4 separate regions of the Homo sapiens genome follow, and all the other regions are linked to region 3. Evidence: promoter capture Hi-C in 16 types of primary human blood cells and fetal thymus (Javierre and others, 2016). All regions are on one chromosome and are shown on one strand. Each heading gives the region's core, a stretch centred on a gene start or on the middle of the fragment in contact. The rest is flanking DNA. Distances are from core to core; before and after follow the strand shown. Region 1 holds the start of LOC105375557 (a long non-coding RNA gene). Region 2 holds the start of ZNF777 (zinc finger protein 777). Region 3 holds the start of ZNF425 (zinc finger protein 425). Region 4 has its middle 8.1 kb from the start of TRC-GCA11-1.

Region 1 (3,419 bases), core at 711-3,210, 500 kb before region 3:
AAACCACACTGAAACATCGCTTTCACCTATCAAATTGGCAAAAATCTAAGAGCTTGGTAACATATCCTGTCACTAAGGCCATCAAAAAACAGACCCTCTCACACATTGTTGGTGGAAGTGTAAATTGGTCAAACGCCTGTGGCAATTTAGCAGTGTCTATCAAAATTATAATGCATGTACATTTGTTCCAGCAGTCCCACTACTAGCAATTTATTTTATGAATATTCCCATGTAAGTGTGAAATGATCAGGGATAAGGTTATCTATTCCAATATTATTAGAGGATATTCTGAGTATATTCAATATTTGATAAAGTAAATTTTAAAATAATTTAATAAAAACCATTTTATTAAAATATTTTATTGTGGTAAGAACACCTAACGTGAGCTCTACCCTCTTAACAAATGTTTTAAGTGCATTACGCATTATTGTTGACTAGAAGAAAACTCTGTTTTTGAAATAATAAAGGAAATAAATTGTTAGAAATACCCAAGAGGAAGATTCTGAGAGTGAATCCTGAAAACACTGTCATTTTGTAACTCCGGCTCTCCATCTGGGTCTGCAGAGTTTTAAAATGCATTCCCCACAAAAGCCTGAGGGCTGAATGAGAAGCTACTTCTCCAAAAGCCTGTATCCCTCAACAAACAAGCTCGCCCCTGTGGCAAAGCACACCCTCTGGTTTTACTGCTTACGCAGAGCCGTTGCTTAATTGACAGATGGTGCCGCTGTGAAAATACAGCCATGTGGGAGAGAAATAAATCAATAAGAAAGAAGACTGAAACACTCTCTCCAGATTCTTTTTTATTCTAGTGAATGTGAATCAGGATTTTCTAATAAAAATCAAGTTAAAAAAATTTATGGCAGGTGTGCTACATATTGAGCGGTTTCAGGACAATATCAGAACTGGCTGTGGCTACAATGAAAAACATTTTACAGGCTGTTTGTAAAAGCTGGTCACCCCCCAGCCTGGCCAACACAGTGAAACCCTGTCTCTACCAAAAAAATACAAAAATTAGCCAGGCTTGGTGGTGCGCAGCCTGTAATCCCAGCTACTCAGGAGGCTGAGGCAGGAGAATCACTTGAACCTGGGAGGTGGAGGTTGCAGTGAGCCGAGATGGCACCACTGCACTCCAGCCTGGGTGACAAAGTGAGTCTCTGTTTCAAAAAAAAAAAAAAATGCTGGTCACCTCGATCTTTATCGCAATGAAGAAAAGACAACACATGTTTTAACAGCCTTCATCCCCCTAATTAGCTTATTTTTTTAGCATGCAGTTAATTTGAAAACTTTATTTAAACGTAAATTGAGTGGATCAGTGTGGAAAGGTAAGTCGATACACAGCAGATTAAAGATAACAAAAAGAAACAAGTGACCTATATTTTCAGAACTTTTCCAGAATGATCGTTTGTTTTGTTTGATCAGTGCTAGAGAAAGAAGTGGCTGGAAGTTGGCAAAAGAACAAGTGGGAAACTGTAAAACGGCCTGTCTGAAATCTGTTCTTTTTTGTGGTTATTTGGGCCAGGCTGACTCCTCATTGCCAGCACTTCTCACATCAAGCACCCGGTCCACCACAAATATGCACATCTCGTCACATGCCGGTGACATTACATGCCCTCCAGTGGGTAAGCTTTCTTCACTTTGTCTAAATCTTTTGGAATTACAGCAACCAATTGACTGGATGTGATGGTTTCTATAATTTTTCATCTAGTGACTGAGAAAAAAAAAACCCTGACGTTTGAAAAGAGCCACTTTAAAAAGTTGTAAACAAGCATGAAGAGGCTTTCCTGGGTCATTAGCTGATTTTTATTTTGCAAAATGCATTCCCTGGAGACTTTCTAAGAAACTACTGTGCTTAATACCAAACTCATAAAAAGCTAGAAATTAGCTTTAATTGTTTAAAAATGGCCATCAATCATCTAAAGCCAGGATTGCTGTAATTTATGAAAATATCTTTATAAAGTATTTAAGATATTGTGGAATAATATATAGTTATAGATACACTAAGCTCAACAGTACCAACAGGCTAGCTCCAAATTTCCCCCAAAAGCTAAAGTTTTCCCTTTTTTGTACAGGAAGTTGGAAAAAAAAAAAACGAAAAATAGAGCTTTATTTTACTGAGAGGCAAGCAAGATTTTACTTACTATTTTTTTCTTCTGGAATATTCCATTTAATATTGGCGAAATGCATATTTCATAACAAAAGGAGAAACAAAAGAAAATTGTCATGAAAACAATGCCTACATGAAGTTAAAATGCTGCCGTCTAAAACACTATGTACCTGTTTATTCCCTCTCATAATGCAAGCTTTATTTCAGGAAAACCACACTCAGCTCCATCTCTCTGTGCCTAGGAGGGCTGGGTTGTCAATGTCAGGGAGGAGAAGAAAACCCAAGACAGGTTGAGCTGAGGTCAGGTACTTGGAGACGCCAAAGCCTGGTACAAAGTAGAAAAGCAGATTTAAGGATGGTCTGAGGTCAGAAAATGAGTCAAGAGCCAGATACACCAAGTTCAAACCAGGACAAGCCAAAAACCAGAGGCTTCGTGACAAATCTAAGAACAAATGAGACAGGGATATATGAATCGGCAAGTTAAACGAGACTAAGAAGCACATCAAATGGGTGTAGCTAAATCTACACAGACACTTTGTTCAGTGGCAGGACCTCTTCCTCCACCAGCAGGCTTTCACCAGTCTTAAAGGAGCAGTATTCTGAAAATATTATGGAAGGGACCAAAACAACTAATATAAGATGAAGACTTGGTTATGCAAAAATGCACCACCACTACAATCCCCAAAAGGAAGGTCTACAAGGAGCACACAAGCTAAAGATTGCCATTGCTATTGTTAGAACAATAAATTATATGTGACTATTATTTAGCACCCTTGAACACACAAAATAAGACTGATGTAACATTTAGCCCATAAAGTATTCATTCAAAATATTTATTGAGTACTTACAGCCAGGCACTGTGCTGAAAGCTGGGGATAAAAAGTTAAGCAGAATGTAGTCTGTGCTCTCAAGAAATTCACAGAGAAAGAGAAAAGAAGCGATTCCAATACAGTGTAATAAGTACACTGCAAGGGGTAAATCATGGGGTGTAAAGATAGAAGGATGATGACAGCTTCCCAAGGACAGGAAATCTAAGCTGAGAACTGAAGGAGTGACGCAGGACAGCTGGCGGGAGAACTTCTCTCCTTTATGTTTAATTACTGTCCAGAGCCATGGAGAATTTAGAGATAACACAAAAAAGACAATTAAATGAATGAAGGCCTCAAAAATATGACCATCTGCAGGGAGTGAAAGCAGTAGCATGGTCTGATCTTGAGTACTGTTAAAAGTAGAATTTTCAAAATGTTAAAACAACACATATACATAAGAGCATATGTCAAGGTTATTTTCAGCTCGCTAATGAGGGAACAAACAG
Region 2 (3,128 bases), core at 388-2,887, 330 kb after region 3:
GAGGCCGGAGGCAGAGGCTGGAGCTCAGAGGGTCACCTGCTCCCACCGCGGAGATGCCCAGCTGGGCGCTGCCCGGCCTCCCCCGCCGCCCCCGACGGGCCGCGTCCGCTGCCAGGGCGGCCCAGCCCCTCACCCAGGGGCGGCCGCCGCCAGAGCCACCCCCTCCCCGTCCAGGCCCGCAGCCCTCTGGGCAGGCCTTTCTGGGGCTGCCGCACCGTGCCACGGATGCCTTGCTACGTGACCTTGGGGCCGGCAGGGCGGGTCGCCGCCAGGTGTCTGTGCCTCAGTGTCTCCGTTCTGCGAAATGGGAGAGCCGCGTCAGCGCCGCGCCCGGGCCGGGGAAGGCTCCGCGGGGCCGAGCTCTGCGGAAAACGTGCCGGCGGCTACCCCGACGGACGCAGCGCGGGCCCCGCAGGGAGCGAGCGCGCCTCCGGGCGCCCCACCTCGGGGCCGCGTGTGTGCCGGGCCGGGCGTGAGAGCAGCCTCCCTCGCACGGACGGCGGCGAGGCCCGTAGCCCTCCCCCACCGCCCGGGTCAAGACGCGCGGGCCCCCTCCAGGGCGCCCCCACCCCCCGCGCCAACGTCGTAGCGTTTCTGCCCCTTACCGAGATCCCAGGCCGGGCCGCCGAGCCCGGGACACGCAGGCCGTCCCCGGGGCCCCGAGGCCGCGCGTCCGTGCGCGCGCGGGCCGCCCTCACAGGAGCCGGGGCCGCCTCGGCCATGGCCCTGCGCTGTCCGGCCCGGGCCCCCGGAGTCGCCGCCGCTACTGCCGCCGCCGCTACTGCGCGCGGCCCCACGCAGGCCCGGCCGCCCGGCGCTCTCCGCAGGCGGCGCCGGCCCAGCCCTGTCTTCCCCGCCGGGGCTCGCGCGCGGCCGTCGGGCCCCGGCCTGCTCGGGGCGCGCGGGGCGAGCGGGCGCGGGGTCGCGGAGCCCGAGCGGCGGCGTCGGAGCTGGGCGCGCGGCTGTGCGGGCGGCCCGGCCGGCTGCGTCCCGGCGGCGAGCTGGGCCCCGGCCCTCAACGGCGGCCCCCGGCCCGCGCGCCGCCCCTCTGCGGCCGCGGCTGGGACCCCAGCTCCGGCCCCGGCCCCGGCTGCGAGCTGCGCTGCCGTCCCGGCGCCTCTTTAGCAGGGGAGCTGCACAGCAGCTGCCATGTTGCTACAAACTGCATCCTGGGAGGCATGTCCCTCTCAGGCCGTTTAAAGAGAAACACTCCGAGGCTCGTCGGAGGCTGCCGGAACCCAGACAGCTCCATCTACAGCCGGTAGGAGCGAACAGTGTCGAGCGAGCCGCCCGGCGGCGACGGACACGCCCTGAGCCCGGGCCAGCCCGTCGTGGAGCCCGGGCCGAACCGCCGGGGCCTCCCACCCTCCAGGACCCTCCGGCCTCTCACCTGGGGTCCTCGCCTGCCCAGGCACCCTCGGGCGAGGCCGGGAGGCGCGCGGGCGGAGGCGCAGTCGGAGCGCGCAGCCCAGGCGACGTGCTGGGGTCTGGAGGCGGCTTGATTGGCTCCGACAGCCTTCCTCCCGCCGATCCCCTGCGCCTCTCACACCCAGAACCCGGGGTCGTTCCCTTTCAAAACCTGCGCTCACAAAGGGATCTAAGAAACCCGTCACACCAGAGAAAGCCCGGAGTTCATGTGACCAGCTCAGTGCAGCCCGGGTTCCAGGGACGCGGGCTGTGCTTCCAAGGGGAGCCAGGGGGTTGGGTGCTTTTGTGAAATGCCCGAGTGTTGTTTTCGACATGAAAGGACCGAATTCCTAGAATCAGACCCTGCTGGGGCTGGAAGTGGCCAGACGGGTCATTTAGGAGGAAACTGAGGCCGAGTGGGCAGCGACTTGTTTACCCTCAGTCACAGTATGAATGAATGCTCTTTGTAACCATGAGAAGTCCCAAAAGAAATGCAGGAGCTTAGAGTTGAGAACTCCCCTTCCTGGACAGGTCCACTTAAACATGTATTAATTGAATACCTACGAGGTGGCGAGAACTGGGGATGAATTGAAAAGGAAAAAAAAAGAAGAAACTATAGGCAGGCGTCCTGGTTACTAGCGATGAAGCCCAACTGGAACTAACTTAAGTGAGGGAAGACGGCGGGGGGGAGCAGAGGACATTGTGTTTACCTAATGGAACCCCAGGAGTGGAGCTGGTCTTGGAAGGCAACAGGACTCAGTATGCTGGCAGCTCAGATAATGGAAAGTTATGGCCAGACGTGGTGGCTCATGCCTGTAATCCCAGCACTTTGGGAGGCTGAGGTGGGCAGATCACGAGGTCAAGAGATCGAGACCAACCTGGCTAACGTGATGAAACCCTGTCTCTACTAAAAATACCAAAATTAGCTGGACGTGGTGGCGCGGCCCTGTAGTCCCAGCTACTTGGGAGGCTGAGGCAGGAGAATCTCTTGAACCCGGGAGGCAGAGGTTGCAGTGAGCCGAGATCGCCCCACTGCACTCCAGCCTAGGGGACAGATCAAGACTCCGTCTCAAAAAACAAAAAAAAGGAAAGTTACAGATAGAGGTAAGGCCAGAGCTATGCATCCTGTCCCCTCCCTTCCCGGAGGCTAGAGTTCTCACCCAGGTCTTTATGCATTAACTAACATGTGTGCATTCGTAAACAATGCACACTACTGGTTTTGGTATTTTTACATTTTATGTGAATGATATTATCCAGTCCCTATCCTGTTGCAACTTGCTTTTTTCCATGGGTCATTTTGTTTTTGAGATACAGACATGTTTAAACAAGAATATCTGGTTCATTCATTTTACCCACAATATAGTATTTCATTGAATACATAAACTACAGTTTACGTTCCATTCCCCCTAGAGGAATGAGAACAAACCTGCTGCCAGCGACATCTGCATGCATGTCTCATTGTGCACTGCTAAAGTGCGTCTCTAGAGACGCCTAGACATGGGACTCTGGATGGCAAGAGCACCTTCATCTTTCCCCGGCTTCCCGAACTGCTCACTGAAGGGATGGTGCCTACTTACACACCCACTATCGTGTGATTTTCTCTTTCCCCATCCTGGCTCATACTTACTGATAATGGACTCAGAACGTTTGCCGACATGATGACTGTGAAATGGTAGCTCATTATTTTAATTTGTATTTGTATTTCCCTGATTAATGAAGTT
Region 3 (3,131 bases), core at 40-2,539:
AACAGAGAGGAATATTCCAGGAGATTCCCAATCACTTAAAGAGGAGAGAAAAAAAGAAAGCCTGGCTGTAGAAACAAAGCTTGGAGAAATCAGAAAAGAATCTGTACCTGCCAAAGGAGGGTGGGGAAAAGGAGTGGGAAGCAAAAGGGAAGAATCAAATGCAAATAAGGAGCATTACATTCCTAAGATTATAAAATTTCATTGGGGGCACAAGAAAAACTTGCACACTTAAGCAAGTTATACTTAACTGAATGTAACAGGGTTTCTTGGATTAAGCCTCAGGATACGCCTTTCAAACTCTAAAACCGGTGCTCAAATTTTCAATACTACATTACAATACTACAGCATTTACGGTAAATTCGATTTACGCTAACCACCCAATTCATTTTAAGTTTTCTGTCCTTTCCTAGAGGGAGCGGTCTCCAATTTCTCTCAGTTCCAGCTTTCCTTCTCCTTTTTCTCATCTGCTTAACACTGATGTGCTTCTCTGAAACTACCTTCAGCAGGAGAGCACGGGCCCCAGAGAGACCCCGAGGTTCAGAGCCCCGACACTGAAGGCAGGGACAGCGTTGTTGATCTGAGCCTACAACAGGCCGAGAAACAGATCTTTCCCACCCGGATTCTTTCTCCCAAACCAACTTTTATTTATGTATTAAACAGACGGGGTCTGGCTGTTGCCCAGGCTGGAGGGCAGTGGCTATTCACAGGCGCGATCCCACTAACGATCAGCACTGGGGTTTTGCCCTGCTCGGTTTCCGAGCTGGGCCGGTTCCCCCTCCCTGGGGAACCTGGTGGTCCCCGCTCCCGAGAGGTCACCACACAGATGCAGAACTCAGAGGCACCGCGCGACGGACCTAGCGCATATACAGCGCAGAGCTCCCGGGCTCAAGCGCTGCTCCCGCCTCAGCCTTCCGAGTGGCCGGGGCCACAGACGCGCGCGGCCAAGCCCGGCCAGACCAGCTTTTCCCCAGGTCAATTCCAGAACAGCACACGCAGCAAGACTGCACCTTCTCCAGCCCAGCCCGGAGCTCAGTCCGTGGGCCACTGCCAACCCCCAGGCCCAGGCCCCGGCCGCCCCACTCCCTGGACGCGGACCCCAATCCAGCTGCGACAGGGACCCGAGTTTCGACAGAGCCTGCATCCTCCACCGGCCCTTCTTACCGAAGCCGGCTCGGCCATGGCGGTTCCGCACGAACCGGCCCTGCCTGGCACGGCCTCCCCTCCGCTCCGCCCCAACCCAACTCCCAGGTACAGCCCTGCTGGCCCCCAAAGGCAGAGCCGGCCGGGCGCGGTGCATGCTGGGACTCGGCGCTCGGAAGCGGAAGCCGCTCCGCCCCATAGCGCCCCCTGCGGGCGGGAGGAGCGGCGCCGCCAGAGGGAGTCGGTCCTCAGAGGAGGGGCCCGGGCACCCTCCGTGCGGGCCGCAGCACGCCGGTCTTTGAGGGACCCTTGGACTCCCGGATCTGCATGCGAGGGATGCGGTCGAAGACGAGATGAGGGAGCTGACGGGAGGGGAAACGGAGGGGCAGGTGAACATGGAGAGAGCAGGAACAGGGAGAGAGTAGGGACAGCGACTGGGAGACGCGCTCCACAGAAACCCGGACTGAGAGGCAGCGAGAGGGTGAGAGTCCGGTGCTGTTCCTTCCAAAGCTGCCCCCAAGTCAGGGATGAGCTCGAGGGTTTCGTTTGTGAGGGGGTCCCGGGAATCCAGCGAGGCCGGGTAGGTGGTGGGGGGCGCGCGGTGGCCCGGGGTGTCCGTCCCGCCGGGGGCGCGGAGGCCGTGTGGGCCCCGGGCATGTCCCGTCGGGGACGCGGAGGAGGGGTCCGCCCACCACGTCCGGTCCCCGTGGGTGCAGCGCCCTTCTGGGCTCCCCGAGCGTCCACACTCCCTCCTTGGCAGAGAAAGGCCTCGGGCAGAGACCCCATGCGGAAGCCACCCCGGCCTCGGGGCCGCCTGCGGGGACTCAGGGTCGCCCAGGGATGCGGGCCGGGCACCCCTAGCCCCCGGCGGGAGACTGTGACAGAGCGGGAGAAGACGGAGGAGGCCATGACACAGGGCGTGAGAAACACGAAGACGCAAAAACGGGAGAGGTGGGAAGACGCAGAAGGGGAAACCAGGGAGAGACAGAAAGGAGAGAGAGGGCAAGGAAGGGGGTGGCGACTGTCCCCAGAAAATCAACCTCGCATTCTGTCCTAGTCATGTTTTAGGTGTCAGGCTAAAGTAACAAATGAAAAGTGTGTAGTTAGAAAGGATGTCCATGAGAAAGTAGTCCCTGCATAGGCTGAGGAGCGTGTGCACATCTGTATTTGTCCCGGAATCGTGAAATGTAGATGCACCTTACTGATTAAAGGGTTAAAAAAAAAAAACCTTACATTAAAACTAACGTTTCGGATGGGCGCGGTGCCTCACGCCTGTAATCCCAGCACTTTGGGAGGCGGAGGCGGGCGGATCACGAGGTCAGGAGAGCGAGACCATCCTGGCTAACGGCGAAACCCCGTCTCTACTAAAAATACAAAAAAAAAAAAAAAAAAAATAGCCGAGCGTTGTGGCGGGCGCCTGTAGTCCCAGCTCCTAGGGAGGCTGAGTCGGGAGAGTGGCGTGAACCCGGGAGGCGGAGCTTGCAGTGAGCCGAGATCGCGCCACTGCACTCCAGCCTGGGCGACAGAGGGAGACTCCATCTCAAAAAAACCAAAAACAAACAAACAAAAAAACTAACGTTTCTTTGGGTGTAAAGTTCTATGAATTTTCACATATGTATGTATACGTGTAGTAACCACTGTAACCAGGATACGGAAGAGCCCTGTCCCACCCTGAAACTCCTTGTGCTGCCATTCTCTTCTGTGCTTCATTTGCTTTATGGTCACTCCCTCCGACACCTGGATCCTTGGCAAGGACTGATCTGCTCTTGAAACCTAGTTTTCTCTTTTTAGAAATGGTATATAAATGGAATCATACAGTATGATATAACCTTTTGTGACTGGCTCCTCAAAAGCGTAATGCTTTTGTGATTCATCCATGTTTACGAAGAGTCAAACTGTAAAATATTTAGAAGTTTATTCTGAGCCAAATATGAGTGAGGAAGGCCAAGGTACTGTCTGAAGAGGTCCTAAGAACATGTATCCAAGGTGGT
Region 4 (3,147 bases), core at 202-2,701, 300 kb after region 3:
GGCGCCTGTAGTCCCAGCTACTCGAGAGGCTGAGGCAGGAGAACGGCGTGAACCCGGGAGGCAGAGTTTGCAGTGAGCCGAGATCCTGCCACCGCACTCCAGCTTGGGCGACAGAGCGAGACTCCGTCTCAAAAAAAAAAAAAAAAAAAAGTGCAGCCTATCATGAGAGAGCGCCTCCAGGTCCACCTCCGCATGGGACAAACACAGCGAGCGGCCAGGAGCTGGGCCTCAGCCTTGGTTTCCTCATCTGCACAACGAGAAAAGTGGGTAGAATGCAGGCTGCCCGGGAAGAAGCTTGAGCAACCCTAAAGCTCGGGGTCAATTCACGGAGTCCCCTCTCCTTCTGGGACCCAAGGCCCTCCGGGTCTTCTGTGCTGTTTTGTGCCGTGGGTTGAGCCTTCGAGGTGGGGTAGGTCTCATATTTCCTGTGCTCTCAGATTCCTGCGGCCGCACCTTTGTTTGCACTAACTGTGTTTGCACCAACTGTGTTTGCACGGGGATTTGCTGGGGCCTTGGCCGGCAGGCCAGTGTGTGCAAGAAAAGCAACCTGACAGCGGCTCCTGCTAACCAGGGCTGGTTCGGGGCTGCGGCCGGGCGGCTCCCGCACTGCGACTAAGGGCCAGCCGGCTGGCAGGCGGGGCTGGGGCTCGGATGTCGGGACTAGCGGGTCTCTGGCGCGAGGCGGCCGCCACCACCGAGAAGGCCGCGCGCATTCCTAGAGCGGCCGCCAGCGGCCAGGTGAGGGCGCCGCGGCCTCCGGGGCCTCCTCGCCTCTGGCCGGCAGGGGGCAGCGCGCGGCCCCGCGCGGCCCGACGTGGCGCTGGCCCGGGAGGCAGCCCGTGGGCCGCCGGCGCGCCCTGCCGGGCACCCAGCAGCGCGCTCCCGTTCTCATCAGACGGGAGAAAAAACGCCCAGGCAGAGGAACGTCTAAAAGTCAAGTCATCAAAATTAATGTAATCGAGAAAATGTGCATATTTAAAATATGGATAGAGACGCATAAATACATCTTTAAAATAAAAATATAATCGTTTGTGTTAAGTCCTTGCTCCATTGGCTCTCAGCTGCACTCACAGCACCAGTGAGACCGACACGGTTGTGCCCCATCCCACAGGCGCCAAATGGAGGGCGCAGGGTTTTAGGAGCTCGCGTAGGGCCTCTCGGGCGGCAGCAATGGAGCCGCGAGGCCGGCGGGGAGACCGAGGACGGGACCCGCTGAGCTCTGGGTGAGCTGGGGGGACTCGAGGGGACCTGGATGGGCCAGAGGCCTGGCTTGGGGAAGGGCCCCTTCCCGGTTCCCCAAGGTCCCGGTGTGCCGCTGCCGTAGGGAAGCAGGAAGGCACGGCCGCGCCAGGCGACCTGAACGAGAGGAAGCCCGGGGTCGCCGCCCGCGGGCGCGGCTGGTGTTCATACCCAGCCAGGAAGGGCGGGCGGGCCTCGGGTGCCACGCGGCGTGCCCGGCGCTTTCCCCGCAGTCCCGCTTGCTGCCCGTCCCTGGACTCCTTATCAGGCAGCTGGGTGACCTTGCTGCAAAGGGCAGGGCCGTGGAGCAGGATTTCTGCCGCACACCAGCCACCTGCAACGGTGGTAAGAGGATTTGGCAGTGATCCGGGTACTCTACCTAATATTGGGGCTGAAATATCAGAAGGAATGATAAAATCCATTTTTAAGTGATAGCGTTTAAAGGTGTTGGATCAGGTTTAATGAAGAAAATCATCTCCATCCCAGCTGGGCAGAGATTTGGGATTGTACCCGTGTTTCTTCCCGCACATTGTCACCTGTGGCTTGTTCATCCGTTCATTTCGCGTGCACTGAGGACCTCTGAGGACCTTGCGCCAGACTCTGGAGCAAGCGCGAAATGAACAAAAGCCGGCCCTGCCCTTGGGAAAAATCAAACACACAATGGCCGCTGAGTGCACGCTCCGAGCACGCGCCAAGCCCTGGAAAGCCCGGTAGAGGGGACCCTCCAACCTCCCGCAGTGATGCGTGTGTGGCCAGGGGTCTTGCTAGGCTGCACCTTGCACCTGAATCTCCCGTTGCCTTCACCGTGGAAGCGTTTGCTGTAAAAATAACATGGGGGTTGGGGCGGGGGAGACGTCTTTGTAGCTTTCTCACAGGGCTTAAGACATCTGTCCTGCTATCTTCCCCGGCCTTCCAGGGATTCTCAGTGGATGTTAGCTCTCTGGATTTCACTGGCAAGGTTATAGAGACTTACCATTTTCTGATATGAACATCTGCCAAGTAACGCATAGAGAATAGGAAAGCATGCATATCCCACAAGGAAAAAAAATAAAACTAAGAAACTGTTCTATCAAAGAATTAAGTAAGCATGGAGTGTGTCACTGGATAAATTAAACATACAGAGTTTGGATTGAGGCTAGGAAAGGTTGAAGCAAGAGAAAAGGAGCCCTGGTGACTTGCCCAGGGCAGAGGTTTTTGAAGTGAGCTTCCTCCTTGGAGACCCCTCAGCGCAGGGGGAGTTTGGGAAGACGGGGGCGCCAGAGCAGGTAGGCTTGGCTCCCTCTCCAGCCTCTTAAGGCACGAGTTATTTTACATATTTAGCTTCTGAAAATTGTTTTATTTAAACAAGGGATTCCGGAGGCTACAAACGAAAGCTTGAAAACACTGACAGATGAAGTGCAAAAAATTTGGCTGACCATTATAAATTTGATAAAGATTTCATGTCCTGAATCTGAAAGAGATTCTAAAATATATTACAGATTTAGTTCTACAGAGAAGGGATGAACTCTTCCAAGTAATTTCACAGGTGGAGATGGTTAGAAGTCCTCATACTGGGTGGTTAAAATTGATTTCTTCCATAGTTATGGAAAAGACTTGATACCTTCTCTTGGAGAAATAAGGGACTCATTCAATTGTAAGTTTTTATTGTTTAGAACATAGAAATTCCTTCTACAACCAGAAAAAAACGCTATTTTCATTTGGGGGCAAAGAATTTTAAATAAGATTCTGGAATTCTGTTATGTGATTACTACATACTAATAAGAGTTCATCTTTTTGGTAAAATGAACACCCAAGCATGTTTGTATGCAATTAACGTTTGTTTCAAGACTCTGAAGAGCTGGCAACAATTTGGGCAAGGAAAATGTGTCTATTTCTCTCAATTTGTCTACTGTATGAATTAAACACACC

The links. The method cuts DNA at HindIII sites, captures the fragments that hold promoters and counts their contacts. A CHiCAGO score of 5 or more calls a contact.
Region 1: a fragment that was not itself captured here is called in contact with the fragment with the promoter of ZNF425 in region 3 in 1 of 17 cell types (activated CD4 T cells); the score reaches 6.1 in activated CD4 T cells.
Region 2: the fragment with the promoter of ZNF777 here is called in contact with the fragment with the promoter of ZNF425 in region 3 in 2 of 17 cell types (neutrophils and naive CD8 T cells); the score reaches 6.3 in neutrophils.
Region 4: a contact is called between a fragment that was not itself captured here and the fragment with the promoter of ZNF425 in region 3, in 3 of 17 cell types (non-activated CD4 T cells, naive CD8 T cells and fetal thymus). The highest score is 5.5, in non-activated CD4 T cells.

Annotation. Positions count from the first base shown.
Region 1 is chr7:148,622,407-148,625,825 of GRCh38, forward strand. It overlaps LOC105375557 (a long non-coding RNA gene), which reads right to left and starts at 3,034. Exons shown (of 3, transcript XR_001745397.2): 1 at 2,953-3,034; 2 at 2,275-2,429; 3 at 1,934-2,150. The HindIII fragment of the contact is 676 bases long and covers 1,623-2,298 here.
Region 2 is chr7:149,459,425-149,462,552 of GRCh38, forward strand. It overlaps ZNF777 (zinc finger protein 777), which reads right to left and starts at 1,638. Exons shown (of 6, transcript NM_015694.3): 1 at 1,391-1,638. RefSeq lists silencers at 299-658, 669-748, 1,039-1,108, 1,279-1,618. The HindIII fragment of the contact is 6,109 bases long and covers 1-3,128 here.
Region 3 is chr7:149,125,035-149,128,165 of GRCh38, forward strand. It overlaps ZNF425 (zinc finger protein 425), which reads right to left and starts at 1,290. Exons shown (of 4, transcript NM_001001661.3): 1 at 1,162-1,290. The coding sequence starts at 1,179. It also overlaps the pseudogene RN7SL521P and a transcript of ZNF398 not described here. RefSeq lists enhancers at 1-205, 453-1,004, 1,005-1,556, 2,220-2,269 and silencers at 715-888, 1,620-2,059. The HindIII fragment of the contact is 7,753 bases long and covers 78-3,131 here.
Region 4 is chr7:149,421,729-149,424,875 of GRCh38, forward strand. No RefSeq gene overlaps it. Among named protein-coding and RNA genes, the nearest start is that of TRC-GCA11-1, 8.1 kb to the left of the region's middle. RefSeq lists an enhancer at 60-559 and a silencer at 691-940. The HindIII fragment of the contact is 2,318 bases long and covers 293-2,610 here.